3 separate regions of the Homo sapiens genome follow, and regions 2 and 3 are each linked to region 1. Evidence: promoter capture Hi-C in human tissues and cell types (Jung and others, 2019). All regions are on one chromosome and are shown on one strand. Each heading gives the region's core, a stretch centred on a gene start or on the middle of the fragment in contact. The rest is flanking DNA. Distances are from core to core; before and after follow the strand shown.

Region 1 (3,348 bases), core at 726-3,225:
TCACACAGCTCTAAGGGGCACGGCCAGGATTTGAATACAACACTGAGCTAATTCCATTACTTGTTCTATGTAATGGAAAGACTTATGTGAGTCTCATGCTGCTGGCAGGCCAGAGACACTCAGCCTGCTCTCATGAGCAGAAACAAGACCGTAACAAAGTCCAGCACTACCAGCTCCAGAATGTCACGTGCAAAAGAAAGGCATAGATGGAGGAGCTGAGCTGGGGAGAGGAAAGAGCACCAGACTAGGAGTTGGGAACGCAGGGTCTTAATCCCAGGCTGTGCCATGTATGTCCTGGAGAAACCCACTGCTTGAATGAAGCTCCTTTCTTCTGATTAAGAGAATGTGGTTTGGTTTTCCATCCTCACAGCATTCTAAGAGATTGGCTGGGCATGGGGAGGGGGGACCACCAGCCTATTGTGGGCGCAGTGAGGAAACTGAGGCTCAGATTGATGATGTAACCTGTTTGATGTTACACTGTATCTATGTGGAAAAGCATAATTGGGAACTGATTTTTTTTGGAAGCTATCAAGCACCAGTCTTGTGCTAGCTGCTTTACCTCTTTTCTCTAATTTAATCCTATCAACTCTCCTAGGATTTTTACTTCCGCTTTATAGATTAGGAAACCCAGGGTCAGAGAGGTGCACTCTGTGACGGCCTCCCAGCAGCTGGCATTCAGCGGGGCTGGGATGGTGAAGACGCTGGTCTATCTCACTGTGCCCTGCCGCCTCCCAGAGTCTCACACTGCAAATTCAGGGTTCCTTCTAGACAATGTGAGGCAGGGAATAAAGCATGGGATCTGGAACTAGAGTTCTGGCTTTGGATGGCTTACCCGCTCTGTAAGTTTTAGCAAGTTCCTCCTTGCTCAGCCTAAGTTTTCTCATCTGTAAAGTGCGAATGATAATACCCACCTCACTGGAGAGTTGCGAGGATCAAAAGAGAGAAAAGAATGGGAAGGTTATCCTAATTACCTCTCATTTCTGTCCAATGGCTCTTTCCAAAGGCAAAAAGCCTTTTCTTCTCCATCACACTCCTTACCTGTAGCCAGACATACCCGACTCCCTCCTAGGAACAGTAAGTCCTCCCCCAACCCAAAACACAGTGCCCTGCCCTCTCCCCCCGCTGCCCTTGGTGCCCCTCCTCAGGTCCCTGGCAGCAGCCCTCTCTCAGTTCTGAGTTGTGCCGAGTTCCTCCGGTCCCCCGGCCCATACTGGTCCTCACGGAGTCTCCACCCCTCCGGCACAGGTGCTGCCTGGACGGCTGTCAGAAGAGCTTGGGGTCCAGGTCCTGGCGCTGTCCCTCACATTCCAGGGGCCGCATCCCTCCTCTGCCCACCCAGCCTCCCGGTCTACTTACGGGCTCGAGCGTGGGAGTCCAGGGGGAACCAGAGCAGCGCGAGTCCCAGCAAGGAGGAGAGGACCCTCACCTCGGGAACCATCCTTTCCCCAGGGTCAGGCCGCTGGTCCGGGAGCGGAGTCGGGAGGAAGGGAGACGAAAAGGACACGGAGGCACAGGGGCCACAGATCAACCCACAGACCCCAGGAGGTCTGCTGCTAGAGCGGGGTCGGAGAAGGGCCAGGAAGCAGCGGTGGGCAGGAAAGGAGGGCAGGAAGGGAGGTCTAAGGTGGGAAGAAGAGAAAGGTGGAAAGAGAACGCGGGGAAAGGAGGGAGAGATGGAGAGACGAAGGAAGGTCCAGCAGAAGGGAGAGGCGATCAAAGAAAGGGGGAAGGTGAGAGGGAGAGGAGGAGAAAGCAGGGAGAGGACCGGCGTCTGCCGAGCGCGCAGCGCCGGGCGAGGCGCGCGGGACCAGCGGGTGTTGCGGGCGCGCGGGCTAGAGGCGGCCGGCGCCCCCTGCTCGGTGGGCTCGGGGTCGGGCCGCGGGGGCCTGGGGCCCGGCGGGGCGGCGGTCCCAGCAGCGGCGGCGGCGCGGCGGCCGCGGAGGGAGGCTGAGCGCGGGCCGGCTGTGCTCGCCAAGGGCTTCAGGCGCCGCGCTCGGGCGCATTTGTACTTTGCCGCGGGAAGCAGGCAGCCCGGCCTGGCGCTGGCCTAGCGCTGGCGCCTCCTCTGGGGCACCGCGGGCTCGGTGGATTGGCCACCCGAGAAACAGGCCCACTTTTTCCCCTCCTCTCTTGTGCGGGTCTCCGGGACGGACGCTCCAGGCGCGGCGCCGAGTGGAGGCGAGGGGGCTGCGGAGGGGGAAGGGGCCACGCGGGCCACGGGGTTTAACCCCTGACTCCCCGCGACGCCAAGAATGCAGGAGGGCAGAGTTGAGGGAGACCTCAGGTGGAACTTTCAGGTGGGGAAGGCTGAGCTGTCGGGGCTGCGGGTACCGGGAAGGCTCAGGGTAAGGCGCTCGGCGGTGCGTGCCCGGAACTCCGCAGATGGATGGAATCAGAACACTGGCGTTCTTAATTCAGTTTGTGGTCTACAGCACGCCACCGGAGAGTCTGTTTTCCCAGCTTTAAAATGGGCATTTTAAGATCTTAAAATATCTCTACTATCTTCCCACGAGTGTTGCTAAGATGAAATAAGGTAATGAACGTCGAAACACTCACCCCACAAAGAGAAGGGGTCCTAATTCCAGGTGCCTACAATACCAGTGGCCCCTGTCCCCACTCCGTCTGCCCATGCGCCATTCTCAGGAAAGTCAGCCCATAGGGATCCTGTGCCTTCCCCTGGAGGTCTTCCTCTGCTCCCCGCTCCCACTCCCGAATCAAGGCAAGATCTCTCCTTTGCCTTTGCAGGTGAGGCCTGCACTTCTCTGGGAGTGATGGTCACCTTCAGTCATCTTTAGGGAGAGCTGATTGTCAAAGAGTTTTCTTTCCCACCAGAAGGGGAGCTCCCTGAGGACAGGGCCCTGACACCCTCCAGCCCTCAAATGGTGCTCCATCTCTTGTGTTGAATGAACACATGCACTAATAGGACACTAAGAAGAGAATAGCCAGCTCTGGCCAGACCAGAAACACACAAGCTCTGAAATCAAAAGGGCAGAGTCACTGTCCTGGCTCCATCCGTAACTTGTTGGGCCACTTTGAGTAAATACATCTATCCTTGCTTTGGACCTCAACTTTCTGCCCAGCTTCTCTTGAAGAGCTAATGGAGACTCCAAAGAGTGCCAGAGGAGTATGAGGTGGGAAGGGATGTTGAGCCATATCCCACTCTGGTAGGGAATCATATTTCCGGGTTTAAACACTTGGCTGGCTGGCTGTAAAGGTATCTTTCTGGGCCAAGGCTGGGCTCCCCATTGCACTGTGCTTTCAGGGTATTACCCCCAAGATCTCCACCCTCCAAAAGAGAGCAGTAGGAGGAACCAGTGATCCCCAAACTGGCCCTTCCTAGGGCTCTCA
Region 2 (3,168 bases), core at 546-3,045, 260 kb before region 1:
TTGGTAGAGGCTAACCTCTCGCAGGGAGAGAGCCAGGGGAACAAGCACCTTTCCCTCTCTCCCCTCCCATCCTGTGGTCTTCTACCACTGCCTCCTGTTGGCTCAACCCAGTTGGAAGCTCCAGAGTCAGGCGGCCTACTGTGGGTGGAGAAGGGTGGTGAACCCATGAAGGGACACGTGGAAGGATCCAGCACAGGCAGTGCATCTGTCAGATGAGTAGGGTCCTCCCCTGATCCTTTTCAGCGTGCTCCAGGCAAGGGGTGGGAGGAAGGAGTAGAAGAACTAAGGAATGTGGGTGGAGGATGCGAGCTTGGGTTTTCACCCCAGAAAGGAGCAGGAGGGGACAATCTCAGTTCCTCAAATATCCACATACTCTCTGTCATCTTCAGGCCTTTGCCTATGCTGTTCTCTCTGCCTGGAACATACTTCCTCCTGGGGCCGGCTAACTCACCCTTAGATGCTACTTCCTCCCGGAAATCTCCCCTGCCCTAAATTAGATGCCTTTGTCTGTGTCCCCTGACTGCTCCCATCCCACGTATCTCCCCTTTTTCATATGTATCATCCTTGTGTAAGTCCCTGTTCTTGGGCAGGGTACAGTCTGATATGGGAAGAATGGCCCTGACTGCATGGAAAATGTTGCTCTCACTGGGAGAGCCCCTAGTCCAAGAGGGAGCAATAGACGAAGCAGCCCCTGGGGGGATCAGAATGCTGTTTGGTTTTTGGTGCTTCTAATCTTCTACCTCCAAAGTCATCAATGTTTAGAAAACAAGCAACAGATGTGGGTGTCTTTACTGGAGGTCTGGCTGAACCTACAGAGAAGGAGGGATTCCCTAATTCTTCTTAGTGATAAGAGACCACCTGGATGGTGCTGACACAGGCACAAGCCAAGAAAGGGGTCAGCCAAGGATCATCGGCCCTGGGACCTGGGCCAAGTCACTGCCCCACTTTGAGCCTCTGTGTTCCTCACTTGCACAACAACAATCTTGGTCCTGCAAACCTTGCAGTGTTCCAAGGAGCAAATGGACTCACAGCTGAGAAGGCACTTTGAAAACCATGAAATGCTTATTATTGCCTTCCCCTCAGACCAGGAGCTCCTGGAAGGAGGGGCTGTACCTCAGATGTTATGCATATTTGTTATCCCACCTAAGTAAATAGGATAGTGTGGCAGCAAAACAAAACAAAAACAAAAAGTGTTGACACTGACTTAAGCTTTGTTTTTAGAAGAATGTGTTTGGGGCTATCTTGGATTCTCCCAGAAGCAGGCCCTGGGACATGGATTTGAGTACAAGTGGTTCATGTGTGACGTGATCCCAGGAAACACAATTAGAAGAGTGGTGAAGTAACACAGGAGTGAATGGAGCCTTTCATAAGGTGTACCCTTAGCAAGCTTAGCCCTGCTAGGGAACCCTAGAGGCCTGGGTAGAACACACATCCAGAGTTACCCCTCATTAGAGGCAAGGGGGCTAGGGGAGTCAGTCATTGGCTGAGGGCTGCTCGGGGGATATGAATTCTCCAGCATGTCCAGCCTGACACATGGGTTGACAGCCCCGGTCCCTCCAAAAGTCCTGAGAAAAAAGGTACAGATGCTGGCAGGTGGAAATAGACACTGAAATGTCTATTTCTCTTCTTCTTCTTCTTCTTTTTTTTTTTTTAAGACAGGGTCTCACTCTGTCACCCAGGCTCCAGGCTGGAGTGCAGTGGTGATGATCTTGGCTCATTGCAGCCTTCACTTCCTGGACTCAAGCAATCTTTTTGCCTCAGCTTCCCAAGTAGCTGGGACTACAAGTGTACGCCACCATGCCCGGCTAATTTTTGCATTTTTTGTAAAGACAGGCTTTTACTACGTTGCCCAGGCTGGTCTCAAACTCCTGAGCTCAAGTGATCCTCCTGCCTCGGCCTCCCAAAGTGCTGATATTACAGGATTGTGCCACTGTGCCCAGCCTGAAATGACTGTTTCTAACAGATATTTGAAATGGCACTGAAATGGAAGGGCCAGGCAAATATACATGGAGCACCTAAAACACCTGCTATAGTCTGGGGCAAGATAGGCACTTGAGTTCCCCAGATTAGCTTCACACTTCAGAGACTCTCATGCTTCTTATTCTGCCTGGAACACACCATGTCTTCTTATCTATCCCACAATTCTTATCTTCTGAAGCCATAGTGGACATCTGATGTCTTGGCCTTCCCAGAATTCCTTCTTTTGGGAATAGAACCTCTCTCTTCCTTTTGGGGAGTCACCCTTCCCTCTCTTGCTCTCAGCCCATATGGTTCAGGTGGGGCTAAGCCCCATCTGTTTGTTCCAAGAGGGTCATGACGCTCCTTGGAGTGATGATTTATCCAGAATCCTTCCTGGGCCTTAGGCTGAATGTATACGGAAGTAAGGGTGGCTAAGCTATAGAATCTAAGTGTGGTGTGACCAACAGCCATCTTTGGCACCACACAGGAGAGAGTGAAGCCAATTCTGAGGTCAGCAGAGCTAAGGAATAGAGGAAGAAAAACCAAGTCCTGATGCCATTGTTTGAGTCCCTGGATCAATCTGTGCCTGAAGTCTATCCACAGACTTTTCAGTTATGAGATCTAAAATATTCTCTTTTCACTTGAGCTAGTTTGAGCTGGGTTTCCTGTTACCTACAACCCAAAGTCCTCACTAATTCAGTGTCACTTTGAGCCTTTTCTGCCCTCATCCTCCCTTTTAAGACTTAGTACTTCTTTTATTTCCCCACAGTTCCCTATGCAAGCTTCTCTCAGTGTGTATAACACTTTACTGCATGTGTTTGTTTACAGGTGTGTCTTCTCTACAAGGCGGTGAGCTCCTTGAAGATGGACCAAGTTGGATCCATCTCTGTCCTCAGGGTCCAGCACAGGCTGGAACCTGGCCAGACCATACCATACATGTTATCTTCAAGCTGCATAGATTAAGGGCACATTAGCCAATTGGAGCCTATGGAGATGAGGGCAGTGGTGTGGGGTCTGGAAGCCATGAAGAACATAAGAATAAGGAATGTTTAACTTGAAGTAGAGACCACTTCTGAGACAATCCATTCTCTGATTCCACAGACTGTTTCTGGGTGCCTCCTCTGTGGGAGGCCCGGGACTGGGGGCTGAAAAGGCCATGGATGACACAGCTATAGTCCCTGCCTGGGGAGCTCACAGTCTGGTTGGGAT
Region 3 (3,583 bases), core at 1,049-3,548, 310 kb before region 1:
CCGTCCCTATCCCATCACTTTGCCTTTCCTTCAGACACCTACCCTCTTGAATTGTGTTCTTATCATTCTCTTTGGGGATGGGGTGTTTTTATCACATTCATTGTTAGCTTTACAAAAATACTTTAATAATCTGTATTACCTTCTGGGATTTGCTTTGCTGCTAAAGTTTTGTTGCTTGTGACTTAATTTTCTTCCTGTGTAATATTCCATTGTGTGCACATAGTAAGAAAATTTAGATTGTTTTTAGTTTTTGCAATATGATTGGTGCTGTTCTGAACATTCTTTAAGTGTTTCCAGGTACATATATGCTAAGCTTTCTTTGGGTTATATATCTAGGAGTGGAATTGCTAGATCAGAGAGGATGCAAATATTCAATTTCATGAGATAATATCACACAATTTAACAAAGTAGCTGTTCCAATTTATACTCCCTCAGCAATGTGTCAGAGCGTCCTTTGATTCATATTTTCTTTAATGCTTTGCTTTTGTCAGACATCTTACCTTTTACCATTTGAAAAGATAAAAAATGGCATATCATTGAGACCTCAATTTGCATTTTTCCAATTTCCAGTGAGGTTTATTGTATTTTCATATGTTTATTAGCCTCATGTGTTTCTTCTGTGATATGTTTGATTATGTCTGTTGTACCTTTCACTATTGTACTATTTCCTTATTAATTGGTAAGAGTTTTTATATATCCTCGATATTTGTAGGATCTTTCAGCTTGTTGCTTGTCTTTTCACTTTCTTTAACGTGCAATCTTGGTTCTTAACCTCAGAACATACACAATTTATTTAACCACTCTCCTACAGATGGACGTTTTTACTGCTTCCAATATTTTACCATTATAACAATGGGACCTTAGATATTCTTGTATCTATATTTTTGGGAACATGTGAGAGTATCTACAGGAAAAACCCCTAGAAATAGAGTTAATGCTGACAAGGGGTATGTGCATTTTAAGTTTTGACAGATACTGTCAAATTGCTCTCCCTAGGAGCTGTGCTTATATTCCTACCAACTGTGAGAGTGCCTCTTACCCTACATTCTCTCCAACATTGTAAAAAATGGTCATCTCGATTTGCATTTCTTTTATAGTCAGTGAAGATGAGTTAAAAGCCCTTTGACATAATATTTTTATACTGTTATGATACAAACTTATATGCAGGAAAAATGAATAATGTTGGAACAGGTGCATCAGTCTTTTATCTGCAGGGTGAATATACAACCTTTGTGTAGATTTTTGTTTATTACTTGTTCTTTATTTTGGGCCTATAAAATGTAAAGTTGGACGATGATGATTAGAGGATTTTCATAAGATCATTGGCTTTGGCGCAAATCCAAGCACATTATGCAGGTAGTTTTAAGAAGCCTTTGAACTCATGTTTTTTTCCTTCTTTCAAGCATATCATATTTATTATAATGTATCAGGTAGAATAATGGCCTTCCAAAGATGTCCATATCCTAATTCCTGGAGCCTGTGAATATGTTCCCTTACATGCCAAAAGGGACTTTGCAGATGTGATCAAGTTTAGGATCTTCAGATAAGGAGCATTATCCTAGATCATCCAAGTGGCACCAGTGTAATCACAAGGGTCATTAACAGCAGAAGAAGGAGGAAGAAGAGATCAGAGAATGAAATATAATGATGGGAGCAGGGCCAGAGTCATGTGCTATGAGAACCTATCATTGCTGGCTTTAGAGAGAGAAGAAGGGCCCATGAGCCAAGGAAATCAGGAAGCCTCTAGAACTCGGAAAAAGCAAGGAAATGGATTCTCCCCTGGATCCTTCAGAAGGACTTCATCCCTCCTGACACCTTGATTTTGACTCTATGAGACCCATTTTGAACTTCTGACCTCCAGGCATAAGATAATAAATTTGTATTGGGTTAAGTTATTGAGTTCATGGTAATTTGTTACAGCAGCAATGCACAACTAAAACATATAGAAAATAAACAATATAAGCAAAATAAAGAAAATAAAAACTTTATGTGGTCCTTTCACCCAGAGAAGTATTATCAGTATTTTGGTATGTATCTATGGTTTTGTGCTTTTTTTTTTTTGAGACAGAGTCTCGCTCTGTCACCCAGGCTGGAGTGCAGTGGCATGATCTCGGCTCACTGCAACCTTGGCCTCCCGAGTTCAAGCAATTCTTCAGCCTCAGCCTCCTGAATAGCTGGGACTACAGGCGCGTGCCACCATGCCTGGGTAATTTATATATTTTTCTAGTAGAGACGGGGTTTCACCATGTTGACCAGGCTGGACCGGAACTCCTGACCTTGTGATCCACCTGCCTTGGCCCCCCAAAGTGCTGGGATTACAGGTGTGAGCCACCACGCCTGGCTGGTTTTGTGTATTTTTAAATTACACAAATAATTTTATACTTTATGCTCTTTTTGTAACTTGCTTGTCTCAGTCAAAATTACATTTATGGGATATCTTTATGTTGATAATGTAGCTCTCATTCATTTATTTAAAATTATGTATAATATTTCATGATAAGAATTCACCATGTGCAGCTGCTGGGAACCTGAAGGTACTGGGTAGGTGCAGGCTGAGCAGACAGGGCTCTGGATGGGTTCCCAAGCAGTGAGGAGAGATGGATCAAAACTACAGACCAACGATTCAGGCCTGGGGAGAGAAGGAAAATAGTATCAAGACAGCATCATTAGGTGACATTATAGAAAATGGCACAGTAGGGTGCTCAAAGAATTGGTGCTTCCACTGAAACAAACATAAGCTATCAAAGACTGACAGAATCAACTTTTTGGGACCCTGAAATATCCAAAACTTACAGGAACCAGGGGAATGCTTAATAAGGAAAAGGGCAGTTGACTTTTGGTAAGAGAGCACTATGGCTTTTTTTTTTTTTTTTTTTTGAGACAGTGTCTTGCTCTGTCGCCCAGGCTGGAGTGCGGTGGCGCAATCTCGGCTGTCTGCAACCTGCGCTTCCCGGGTTCAAGTGATTCTTGTGCCTCAACCTCCTCAGTAGCTGGGACTATAGGCATGCGTGACCACGCCCAGCTAATTTTTTGTATTTTTAGTAGAGACAGGGTTTTGCCATTTTGGCTAGGCGGGTCTCGAACTCCTGACCACAGGTGATCTGCCTGTCTCGGCCTCCCAAAATGCTGGGATGACCATGCATTCCCAGGACCATGTGCTTGCACAGCCAGGCATGGTGGCGGGCACCTCTAATCCCAGCTACTTGGGAGGCTGAGGCAGTAGAATGGCTTGAACCCGGGAGGTGGAGGTTGCAGTGAGCTGAGATCACATCATTGCACTCCAGCCTGGGCGACAAGAGCAAGACTTTGTCTAAAAAAAAAAAAAAAAAAGAAGAAAAGAAAAGAAAAGGCCTTAGAGGATCATAGGCTTGGCACCTCTGGAAGATCTGTGGGCTCCATGCATACAGGAAGTAAAGGCAAAGGCAGACCTGTAGGTGGCCTGGTGTAGGGGTGAAAAAAATGTCCCCACTCACAACCAAGATGCAAAGACCAGAAGAGTAGTATTTTTTTCTCTTTTTGGCTCTGAGTACTTAAGGAAATCTTTGTTAGGTCACTTCACTAAGCACTGAGATAATGGAACAGA

Evidence for each region. Contacts are between HindIII fragments. The study calls those that stand out against the background at their distance.
Region 2: a fragment that was not itself captured here is called in contact with the fragment with the promoter of CHRDL2 in region 1 in 1 of the 25 tissues and cell types used here (hippocampus).
Region 3: a fragment that was not itself captured here is called in contact with the fragment with the promoter of CHRDL2 in region 1 in 1 of the 25 tissues and cell types used here (IMR-90 fibroblasts).

The regions. Positions count from the first base shown.
Region 1 is chr11:74,729,451-74,732,798 of GRCh38, forward strand. CHRDL2 (chordin like 2) reads right to left here and starts at 1,976. Exons shown (of 11, transcript NM_001278473.3): 1 at 1,357-1,976. The coding sequence starts at 1,438. The HindIII fragment of the contact is 7,141 bases long and covers 1-3,348 here.
Region 2 is chr11:74,473,569-74,476,736 of GRCh38, forward strand. No RefSeq gene overlaps it. Among named protein-coding and RNA genes, the nearest start is that of KCNE3, 7.6 kb to the left of the region's middle. The HindIII fragment of the contact is 4,261 bases long and covers 1-3,168 here.
Region 3 is chr11:74,421,690-74,425,272 of GRCh38, forward strand. No RefSeq gene overlaps it. Among named protein-coding and RNA genes, the nearest start is that of MIR548AL, 24 kb to the left of the region's middle. The HindIII fragment of the contact is 6,614 bases long and covers 1-3,583 here.